2 separate regions of the Homo sapiens genome follow, and region 1 is linked to region 2. The links are contacts of gene promoters, found by promoter capture Hi-C in blood cells and fetal thymus (Javierre and others, 2016). All regions are on one chromosome and are shown on one strand. Each heading gives the region's core, a stretch centred on a gene start or on the middle of the fragment in contact. The rest is flanking DNA. Distances are from core to core; before and after follow the strand shown.

What was found. Contacts are between HindIII fragments. The CHiCAGO score rates a contact against its expected background, and 5 or more counts as called.
Region 1: a contact is called between a fragment that was not itself captured here and the fragment with the promoter of RAB12 in region 2, in 2 of 17 cell types (activated CD4 T cells and non-activated CD4 T cells). The highest score is 7.8, in activated CD4 T cells.

The regions. Positions count from the first base shown.
Region 1 is chr18:9,618,625-9,623,433 of GRCh38, reverse strand. PPP4R1-AS1 (PPP4R1 antisense RNA 1) reads right to left here. Exons shown (of 3, transcript NR_110773.1): 3 at 4,071-4,239. Among named protein-coding and RNA genes, the nearest start is that of PPP4R1-AS1, 6.2 kb to the right of the region's middle. The HindIII fragment of the contact is 2,301 bases long and covers 1,560-3,860 here.
Region 2 is chr18:8,607,346-8,612,359 of GRCh38, reverse strand. It overlaps RAB12 (RAB12, member RAS oncogene family), which reads right to left and starts at 2,923. Exons shown (of 6, transcript NM_001025300.3): 1 at 2,407-2,923. The coding sequence starts at 2,920. RefSeq lists an enhancer at 1,636-1,685 and silencers at 2,136-2,435, 2,866-3,095. The HindIII fragment of the contact is 24,115 bases long and covers 1-5,014 here.

The DNA.
Region 1 (4,809 bases), core at 1,461-3,960, 1.0 Mb before region 2:
ACCCAGCAATTCCACTTCTCGGGATATAACCAAGAGAATTGAAAGCATATATCCACACAAAAACTTGTAGATGAATGTTTATAGCAGCCTTATTCATAATAACTAAAACAAGGAAATAATCCAAATGTCCATCAGCTGGTGAAGGGATAAATAAAATGTGATATATCCATACAACGGACAATAGACATTAATAAAAAGAATTTTTTAAAAAAAGAATGAAATACTGATACATGCTAAAACATAGATGAATATTAAACACATTCAGCTAAGTGAAAGAAGCCAGTCACAAAAGACCACGTATTATACAAATCCATTTATGTGAAATGTCCAGAATAGAGAAATCCATAGGGACAGAAAATACATTACTGGTTACGCAGAACCGGGGTTGTTGTAGTGGCAATCAGGAGTGACTGTTAATGATACGTGTTTCTTTCTGGGGTTATGAAAATGTTCTCAAATTAGATGTGATGGTCACATAACTGAATATTCTAAAAACTAAAGAATTGTACATTTTAAATAGGTACATTTTATTTTATTTATTATTATTATTTTTTTGAGGCAGGGTCTTATTCTGCCACCCAGGCTGGAGTGCAGTGGCACGAGCACAACTCACTACAGCCTCCACCTCCTGGGTTCAATCCATCCTCCCACCTCAGCCTCCTGAGCAGCTGGGACTACAGGCGTGCATCACCACACCCAGCTAATTTTTGCATTTTTTGTAGAGATGGGGCCGCACCATGTTGCCTAGGCTGGTCTTGAACTCTTGGGCTCAAGCAATCCGCCTGCCTTGGTCTCCCAAAGTGTTGGGATTACAGGCATTGGCCACCTCGCCCAGCTAAATGGGTAAATTTTATAGTCTATAATTTATATCTCAATAAAGCTATTTAAAGTTTTGGGGTTTTTTGTTTTTTTTTGTTGTTGTTGTTGTTTTAAACGGAGTTTTGCTCTTTTTGCCCAGGCTGGAGTGCAATGGCACAATCTCGGCTCACTGCAACCTCTGCCTCCCAGGTTCAAGAGATTCTCCTGCCTCAGCCTCCCAAGTAGCTGAGATTACAGGCATGTGCCACCACACCTGGCTAATTTTTTATTATTATTTAGTAGAGACAGGGTTTCACCATGTTGGTCAGGATGGTCTCAAGCTCCTGACCTTAGGTGATCCACCCTCCTCAGCCTCCCAAAGTGCTGGGATTACAGGCATGAGCCACCACGCCCGGCTAAACTTTTTTTTCTTTTTTCCCCCCAAGACGGAGTCTCCCACTGTCGCCCAGGCTGGAGTGCAGTGGCGCGATCTTGGCTCACTGCAAGCTTCGCCTCCCAGATTAATGCCATTCTCCTGCCTCAGCCTCCCGAGTAGCTGGGACTACAGGCGCCCGCCATCACGCCCGGCTAATTTTTTGCATTTTTAGTAGAGACGGGGTTTCACCATGTTAGCCAGGGTGGTTTCAATCTCCTGACCTCGTGATCCGCCCACCTCAGCCTCCCAAAGTGCTGGGATTACAGGCGTGAGCCACCGCGCCCGGCCTAGGCTAAACTTTTTTAAATATAGGACTTTGAAAGCTTTAAAAAATAGGTAAACATAAACTGTTTGGGGGTATTATCTCTAAATTTTTGGAGATTTTAGTTTTTTCTTTATACTTTTCTGGGCACTCCAAAAACATGTATTTTTGTAATTGGAAAATTCAGAAAAGAATAAATGTTACAAAGATGTAGAATTCCGGCCGGCCATGGTGGTTCACACCTGTAATCCCAGCTCTTTGGGAGGCCAAAGTGGGAGGATTGCTTGAACCCAGCAGTTCAAGACTAGCCTGGGCAACAAAGTGAGACCGCATCTCAAAAAAAAAAAAATATGTAGAATTCCACCCCTCCCAACACCTGCCACATACCTACAAGCAGCAGCAACAACAAAACCTCCTAAAAAACCAAGAACATCGTTTGAGGGAGAAGTGAGTTGGCACCTGAGTTCAAGATTGTCTACCTGGATGATTTGTCCGAATAATGAAATGGTGGCAAACTGCAGCCATTCAAGCCAAGGGCAGCTGGTGAGAGGACACTGTTAAGGCACTTGCTTGGGAATTTCACAGAATTGTGATGAACAAAATATTATATGAGAAAGATAATTTTTGTATACTTGGCCAGAATAATTGAAACAGGCTAGTTAAAAAGTTATTAGTATGGTTTTGAAGTGGTTAATATCTTGGTCAGGATATTGAGTGAGAAACGGAGTGAAGAGGTGACTCCTAAAATGTTTCAATGACAAAATCCTCAGGGAACAGTGATAACTTAGATGGAATTAGAGATTATACCAAGACCATACATGTTGAAAGACTAGAAGTTCTCTTAATGCGAAAGAAGTTGACGAAGGACCATTTTGACAGAAAAGCTATGAATGTGAGGATACGCAAACGCTATTGCCATTATTTAGAATCAGGATTCCAGTGTTTGAATACTAATTCCCCTATTTGCTTGCTTGCTTGCTTTCTTTCTTTTCTTTTTTTTTTTTTTTTTTGAGACAGTCTCACTCTGTCACCCAGGCCAGAGTGCAGTGGTGTGATCTCGGCTCACTGCAAACTCCACCTCCTGGGTTCAAGAGATTCTAATGCCTCAGCCTCCCGAGTAGCTGGGATTACAGGCATGTGCCACCACACCCAGCTAACTTTTGTATTTTTAGTAGAGACAGGGTTTCACCATGTTGGCCAGGCTGGTCTCGAACCCCTGGCCTCAAATGATCCACCCACCTCGGCCTCCCAAAGTGCTGGGATTACAGGTGTGAGCCACTGTGCCAGGTCATTTGCTTTTTGATCTTTGTCAAAATACCCAACCTTTCTGAGCTTCGATTTCCTTTATTTTTAAAATGGTAATATCAATTTCTACTTCACAGGGCTGTTTTAAATAATCAGAAAGCACATAAAAGTGCTTAACAGGCTGGACGCGGTGGCTCACACCTGTAATCCCACCACTTTGGGGGGCCGAGGCAGGTGGATCACTTGAGGTCAGGAGTTTGAGACCAGCCTGGCCAACATGGTGAAACCCCGTCTGTACAAAAAAAAAAAAAAAATATATATATATATATACAAAAATTAGCTGAGTATGGTGGTGGGCGCCTGTAGTCCCAGCTACTCAGGAGGCTGAGACAGGAGAATCGCTTGTACCCGGGAGGCGGAGGTTGCAGCAAGCTGAGATTGCAGCAAGCTGAGATTGTGCAACTGCACTCCAGCCTGGGTGATGGAGCGAGATTCCATCTCAGAAAAAAAAAAAAAAAAGAAAAAAAGAAAAAAAAAGAAAAAGCGCTTAACATGATGCCTGGCACACGCTCTGAAAAATGTTTCATATATACGGTAATATTACCATTGGGGGAACTGATGTGAAAGTGACATAGGACATCCTGGCACATCATTTGAAACTTCATGTAAATCTGTAATTGTTTCTAAATAAAAAGTTAGAAAATGTATTAGCTATCTAGTCTGGGAATTATATTGTGTCATTGTGCTAATATTTTTCCCACCAAAGGAAGGAACCAAGGACCAGAGACACAAGCAATTTGTTACAAACAGTTACAGAGAAGTGAAATGAGAATGGAAGTAATTTCTTCTGAATCATATTACCATAGAGCAGCCTTAGTGTGAAGGGAGCTTAGAGTCAGGGCAGTTAACCACTGAACTTATCTGGGTTTGAATATGTGGTTTGCTATGGTTTATTTCCTGGTTCAACTTGACTCATCCATTCAGATTCAGAATAATAAACATTTAAACATTTAAAATAATAAGCATCTAAAATGATAAGCATTTCCTCCACACGTACTCTGTGCCAGGCATTGTGGAAGCCTCTCCCATATTGCTTTGAATGGGATTGCAACTAAAGCTTTCTAAATTCTAAGAGAAAGGCACAAAGGAAATTTACTACTGCCACTCTAATCCATTTAGTGCTCACTGTTTAAACATCTTTGTTTTCTCTTAATGAAATTAAAATGTGTGGAACAAATTGTGTAGGATGTAGTACCTCATCAGTGGGGAATTCTTTTGCCTCTACTAACCTGGAGCACTGGGAAAAGCACGGGAGTAGGGAACATAGTGGATAAGAAAAAGAGGGTTTATTTTCCTTTATACTCAGTTTACAGTAGTGATTCCAGCAGGATGCACTATTTTGTTCAGAAAAAGCTGATGCTAAGAAACTTGGAGCTGTGGCTGACGACCTTGGGACAGAGCTGAAGTTCTGTTGCATTCTCGGGGCAGTGTTCAGCTCCTGTAAATGTAGAAAGAACAGCCTGAATCAGGGTAACTCTGTATAGAGCTCAGTTCTGTAGGTATTTTTCTTCTCTTTTTTCTTTTCTTTTCTTCTCTTTTCTTTTCTTTTCCTTTCTTTCCCTCCCTCCTTCCCTCCCTCCCTCCCCTTCTTTCTTTCTCTCTTCTTTCTTAAGCACAGTGTGAGAAAATGTCTCTTTAGCTGATGTGAGTAAAGAGATCAAGTATCTTTGAAAAACTATGAAAGCTCTAGGAAAGGCTAAGGCTTCACATTCAGAATGTCACCTTGACAGGGAGCTTTAAAGGGAGATAGAAGAAGCATAGAGAGGAGGACAAGTAAAATTTCACAAATATACAATTTTTTTTTTTTTTTGAGACAGTCTCGCTCTGTCACCCAGGCTGGAGTGCAGTGGCGCGATCTTGGCTCACTGCAAGCTCTGCCTCCTGGGTTCACGCCATTCTCCTGGCTCAGCCTCCCGAGTAGCTGGGACTACAGGTGCCCGCCACCATGCCTGGCTAATTTTTTTGTATTTTTAGTAGAGACTGGGTTTCACTGTTAGCCAGGATAGTC
Region 2 (5,014 bases), core at 1,674-4,173:
CAATTCTACACCACACCCAGTACCATATTTAATTTGCATTTTTCTAAAGGAACTAGAGGAACAAACTTATCTTCAAACATTCCAATGACGAGGAAGCCTTCTCTGACCAGGCCTCATCACTAGCCTCGACTGGAGGCGCTTTCACTGTGCTCCCAAATACCCATACACATCTGTCACTGCCCTGACAAGCGGTCACGCAGCTCCCAGAAGCTCCGATCCACTTCTGGACAGAGTCGATGTCCTGTTTACCACTGAATCCCCACTGGGTAGCATAACACCCAACACACAGTAGGTGCTCAACAAACGATCTGATGAGTGGAGGGGAAAAGCAACTCTGAAGCAGAAACTGAAGTGGAGCTGGCTGGCGTTCTCACAGTGTCTTCCCGCTCTGCAGCAGGCCAGGGGCCATGATCATTCTCTGAACATCCCACAGTTAGAAGCACGCACTGAGTACTAAAGTACTCCAGTACTCTAAGTATTATAGGCTACATGTGAAGCAAACAAAAATGAGCAAGACAGAAATTCAACCACACTCAGAGTAGGGAGTATGTGCTCGGGTAAGTGCATGTTTGTTAAGGGACACAGAAACAAACTGCTTGGTCTCCTTGCCTCCTGGTTTCTTCCTTATTCCCAAGCATCCTCCGCAGCTCTTCCTTATTCCCAAACATCCTATGCAACTCTGCCAAACTGTTTTCGTGCCAATGCCTTACTAAGGAGTCTTTTGGTTCCAGGTGCCCATAGGATCGGGTCCATTCTCCTTAGCATGGCGGTCAAGGTCTCGCAGCATCCATTCCCAAGTCCCCTAAGGAACCCTCCCCAGAGGTGGGGGGCTGCTCCACTGCTGCCAGGCTTAGAAAATCCTTCTTCCTCTCTCCTCTTCTGCATTCTAAAGCACACCTTTGCTCATCCATCTCACCCTCCATCCACTCAAGCCCTCAGTTACCCACCTATGGGTACCTGATTTCTCTTCATCACACAGTGCAACTCTATTATCTCTCATTTTTATATACTGAAGTACGGAGCCATAAAATATTGACAATTCTAAACGGAATTTAACCCTACTTTATTTATGTCAGGTACTAAAATAACAGCCTAACCCTCATTTGATGGTTTAACAACTCCCTGTACTCTGCATGATCCAAGACTGGATATTTGAAACAGGTATAGTTATGCTACTCATTTTAATATAATGTCTCCAACGACAACATTTTAAAAACATATGGTACAGACATCACAAATATTTCCAAAATGATCTATTCCAAAAAAGCATTAAGGGAAGTAAGTTCTTGAAAACAAACCAAGAAAGACAGTACAAAAATTGGAGGTTTCACTTTCCAATAAGACACTTTAAATGTAGTACTGTTTTGTTACATGACAATTTCAAATCAAGTCATCTCAAAATCGTACTGACAGCCTTGGAACTACCACTGGTTATAACACTATTAATAAATAGAATTACATGAAATTATGCTTTTAATTCTATCAAATCTCCTGACTACTCAGTTTCTTGGACCGCCCCTGGGGAAATCTCTCACTTCCTATCACGGAAGTGACTGCCCTTTATTTTAAAGAACGGGGTTCTCCTAGTTTGGACATCTTTTAAGGGGTTTTCCATAGAAACAACTGCTACCCACATCCAACTGAGAAATCTCAATGTCAAGTCCTCTAAGCATGACTTAATTAAAAAAATTTCCCCTGCAGTTTCCATTTCAGATCCACGGCTGTTTTCCTCCTTGACCCTGGAGCGTTCCTGTACTTACTTCACTCCTGTCCCTCACCGAAAACAGCGGTACTGGAGGAATCAACCCCATGCCCGCCAGTCACCGGGTTGTTTGAGGTCATGGATAAATACAGCTGAAGCTCCTCTGCCCCGTACGTACGGCTAGCACGAGAAACTTACTGTAGTTTTAGTTTTAACATTCTCCATAGGTGACTTTAAACTTCATTTCTTGAAAATGGGTTCAAAATAAGAAAACTGCCCTGGTTGCGCAGGGATCACACCCGCAGCAGACGGCGCGCGCTGGCCTTGGCGGGCCGGGCGAGAGCGGCCTTAGGCGTTCACTCCCCTGCCTGCCTGCGCTCCACTCGAACCCAGCTTTTTCTTGGGCGAGTATGCTAAGGGCCGAAGTTTCCGTGGAGAGCCGCCCCCACAGGCCCCGGGGGCTGCCAGGACCTCTGAGGCAGGGCCGGGGGCCAAGGGCAGGTCTGCCCGGAGGCGGCACGAAAACCTCTGCCAGGCTTTGGGATTGGGATGCAGGGCGCTCCAAGGAGACCCCCGCCCCTAGTTTCACCGAGAGGCCCATCCCCGAAAGACTCCCAGGCTCGATGAGACTCGAAGCCCACGGGGCGAAGGGCACCTGCCCGGGCGCCAGGAGGCCCGGCCCAGGGTCGCCGTGGCGCCCTTACCCACGGTGGACTTGCAGGCCTCGCAGAAGGTGTCGTCGGTGAAGCGCTCCATCAGGCTGGTCTTGCCCACGCCGCGGGAGCCGATAATGATGACCTGCAACTTGAAGTCGGCCGGCCTGGGGGGCTGCTTCCTCCGGCGGCCCTGGCCGCCCGACAGCGCCGGGGAGCCCGCGCCCAGACCGCCGCCGCCCCCGGCCCGCCTCTGCAGCGCGGCGCCCGGATCCATACACGCATGCGGCTCCCGCTCGGCCCGCCGCCCGCCGCCGCCCGCCCCCCGGCTGCGCGCCCCGGGCCCCGGCGCCCCCTCGGCCTCCGCCGCGCGCGGGGGGTCGGCCCCGGGCTCGGCTTCCGCCCGCTGGAGCGGCCCCGGCGGCCCGTGGGCTCCGCGCTGCAACTGCGCCGCCGGCCGGCTCTCTGCGCCCGGGTCCCCTCCTCCTCCTCCTCCGCCGCTGCCGCCGCCGCCGCCGGGAGAGGAGGAAGGGAAGCAGCTACTCCGCAGTAGCGGCAGCAGCATCCCGGACGAGGAGGGGCAGGAAGCGCAGGCGCGGGCGGGGCGGCTGGCCGCGAGGGGCCGGAGGCGGGCGGGTGGGCGCCCCCTGCCGGCGGGAGGACCGCGCGCCCGGGCCTCGGTTGGGTACTGCGCGCGGAGCTTTCCCGCAACCCGCGCCGCTCTTTCCCTGCCTCTGCTCGCCTGCCCGCCCCCGCTTCCCTCCCTCTTCCGCCGGCTCTTTCATCTTTTCTTCCTCTTATCTCTTCCCTTTTCCCCCTTTTCACTCCTCCCTACTCGGCTTTCACTCTGACCCGCATTTATAGTTAACACAAGAAACTTAGTGTGGTTTTAGTCTTAAAATTCTCCGTAGGCAATTTTGAACTTCAGCATTCCGGTGCATCATGAAAATGGGTTCAAAATAAGAAAAAGAACCCTGGTTGACAGTGAAAACACTCCCATGCGCACAGTCCCCAAACACCATGCACATGTTTTCGCCCCCGCGCGCTCGGTGTAGCTGGAACGCTGGAAAGGCCCCGACCTGAGGCCGCGCCGCCGGGCCGCCTGCGCTGCGTTCGCGTCTACACCAGCGCTCTCTCACAAACACCAGCGGGTGCAAGCCCCCGCACCCTCTACCGGGCCGTGGCACTGCTCGGTCTCTCTCCGTCACGTCTGTCTCCCATTTTGCACGGAAACGCGCGAAATCAGTTATTTTTAACTCTGATCGCTGTCTCACTCAGAGTTCAGAAGTTTTTATGCTGTTTAATTTTTAAATTAAGTAAATGGCATACTCCTTTGGGGGAATAAGCGAGTTAAAACTCAAACAGTGCGAGAAGATTGAAACTTTAGGAATTATGGACTCGGGTCGTATGTTTTGCCATTTCTGTTTGGAAGGATTTAAGGATACAGAAAATCACTGCTGATTCCTTGCCAGAGATTTGTTTAGCAAATTCCTCAGCTTGAACTTGAGCATCTCAGAACACAGGGTTCTGAATATGATAGGGGCTGGCAACATTTGCCGAATGATCACGTTACCCACAAAATTTCAGCTGTGCTGTATTTAGAACTAGGTTTAGTAATGCACAGTACACGCATATGTTACACAGCAAACCTGATTTGTAAAAATCTAGCGTTGCCCACAGTGTAGATTGGAAGTTTACATCTATGAGAGCATTCTTAACTGTGCAGTCACTGTAGGGATCTTTATAATATGAATTCTGAGAATATGTAAAATATGATCCCTCTATATTATTTGAAACACAGATCCATCACTTACCATCACGGAATTTACTTTCTTTCTTTCCTTCTTTCTTTCTTTTTCTTTCATTTTGTTTTGTTTTGATTTTGAGACAGCCTTGCTCTGTTGCGCAGGCTGGAGTGCAGTGGTGCGATCACAGCTCACGGCAGCCTGGAACTCCTGGGCCCAAGTGATTTTCCTTGCTTAGCCTCCTGAGCCGCTGAGACCACAGGCACGTGCCACCACGCCTGGCTAATTTAAAAATTTTTTGTACAGTTGGGGTTTTGGTTTGTTAACCAGGCTAGTCAACAGTGTGAGACCCTGAACTGGCCTCAAGTGATCCTCCCACCTCAGCCTTCCAAAGTGCTGTGATTACAGGCATGAGCCACTGTGCTCCGCCGCAGAACATTTCTTAGCTGTGGGTTTCTCTTCTGTTCTATGAGAATGAGAGTAGTGGCCCCTCCTTTCCTCTAGCATTGTTAGGAAAAAAGCAACTAACAATCTCTGCAGTCTGCTGCAACCATAAGGCACTATATAAATGTAAGGGATTAAAGAAACTGATTTATGCATGGCTTTTCAGGAATACTGTGATTTTACAAAGCAAGACGCATCTGCAAAGGTAATCTCAAGATTTTTAATTTGGTCCATTCTGATTAATAGCACCGCCTGTCTTAATAGGCAGATGCATGTGGCATGGCTTGTGGGGCTGAAGACCTTCTTGCCCAAAATAAAATATCTTCCCCATAAGGTAGATCTGTAGTTTCTGCCACTAGAATAATTAATGAACTAAATGACAGAGGTTGGGCAGTGTTTCTGGAGGACAGGTAAGTGCATATTCACTATTTTAAATCAATTATTATAGTGCCCCTAATCCCCTGGGAATA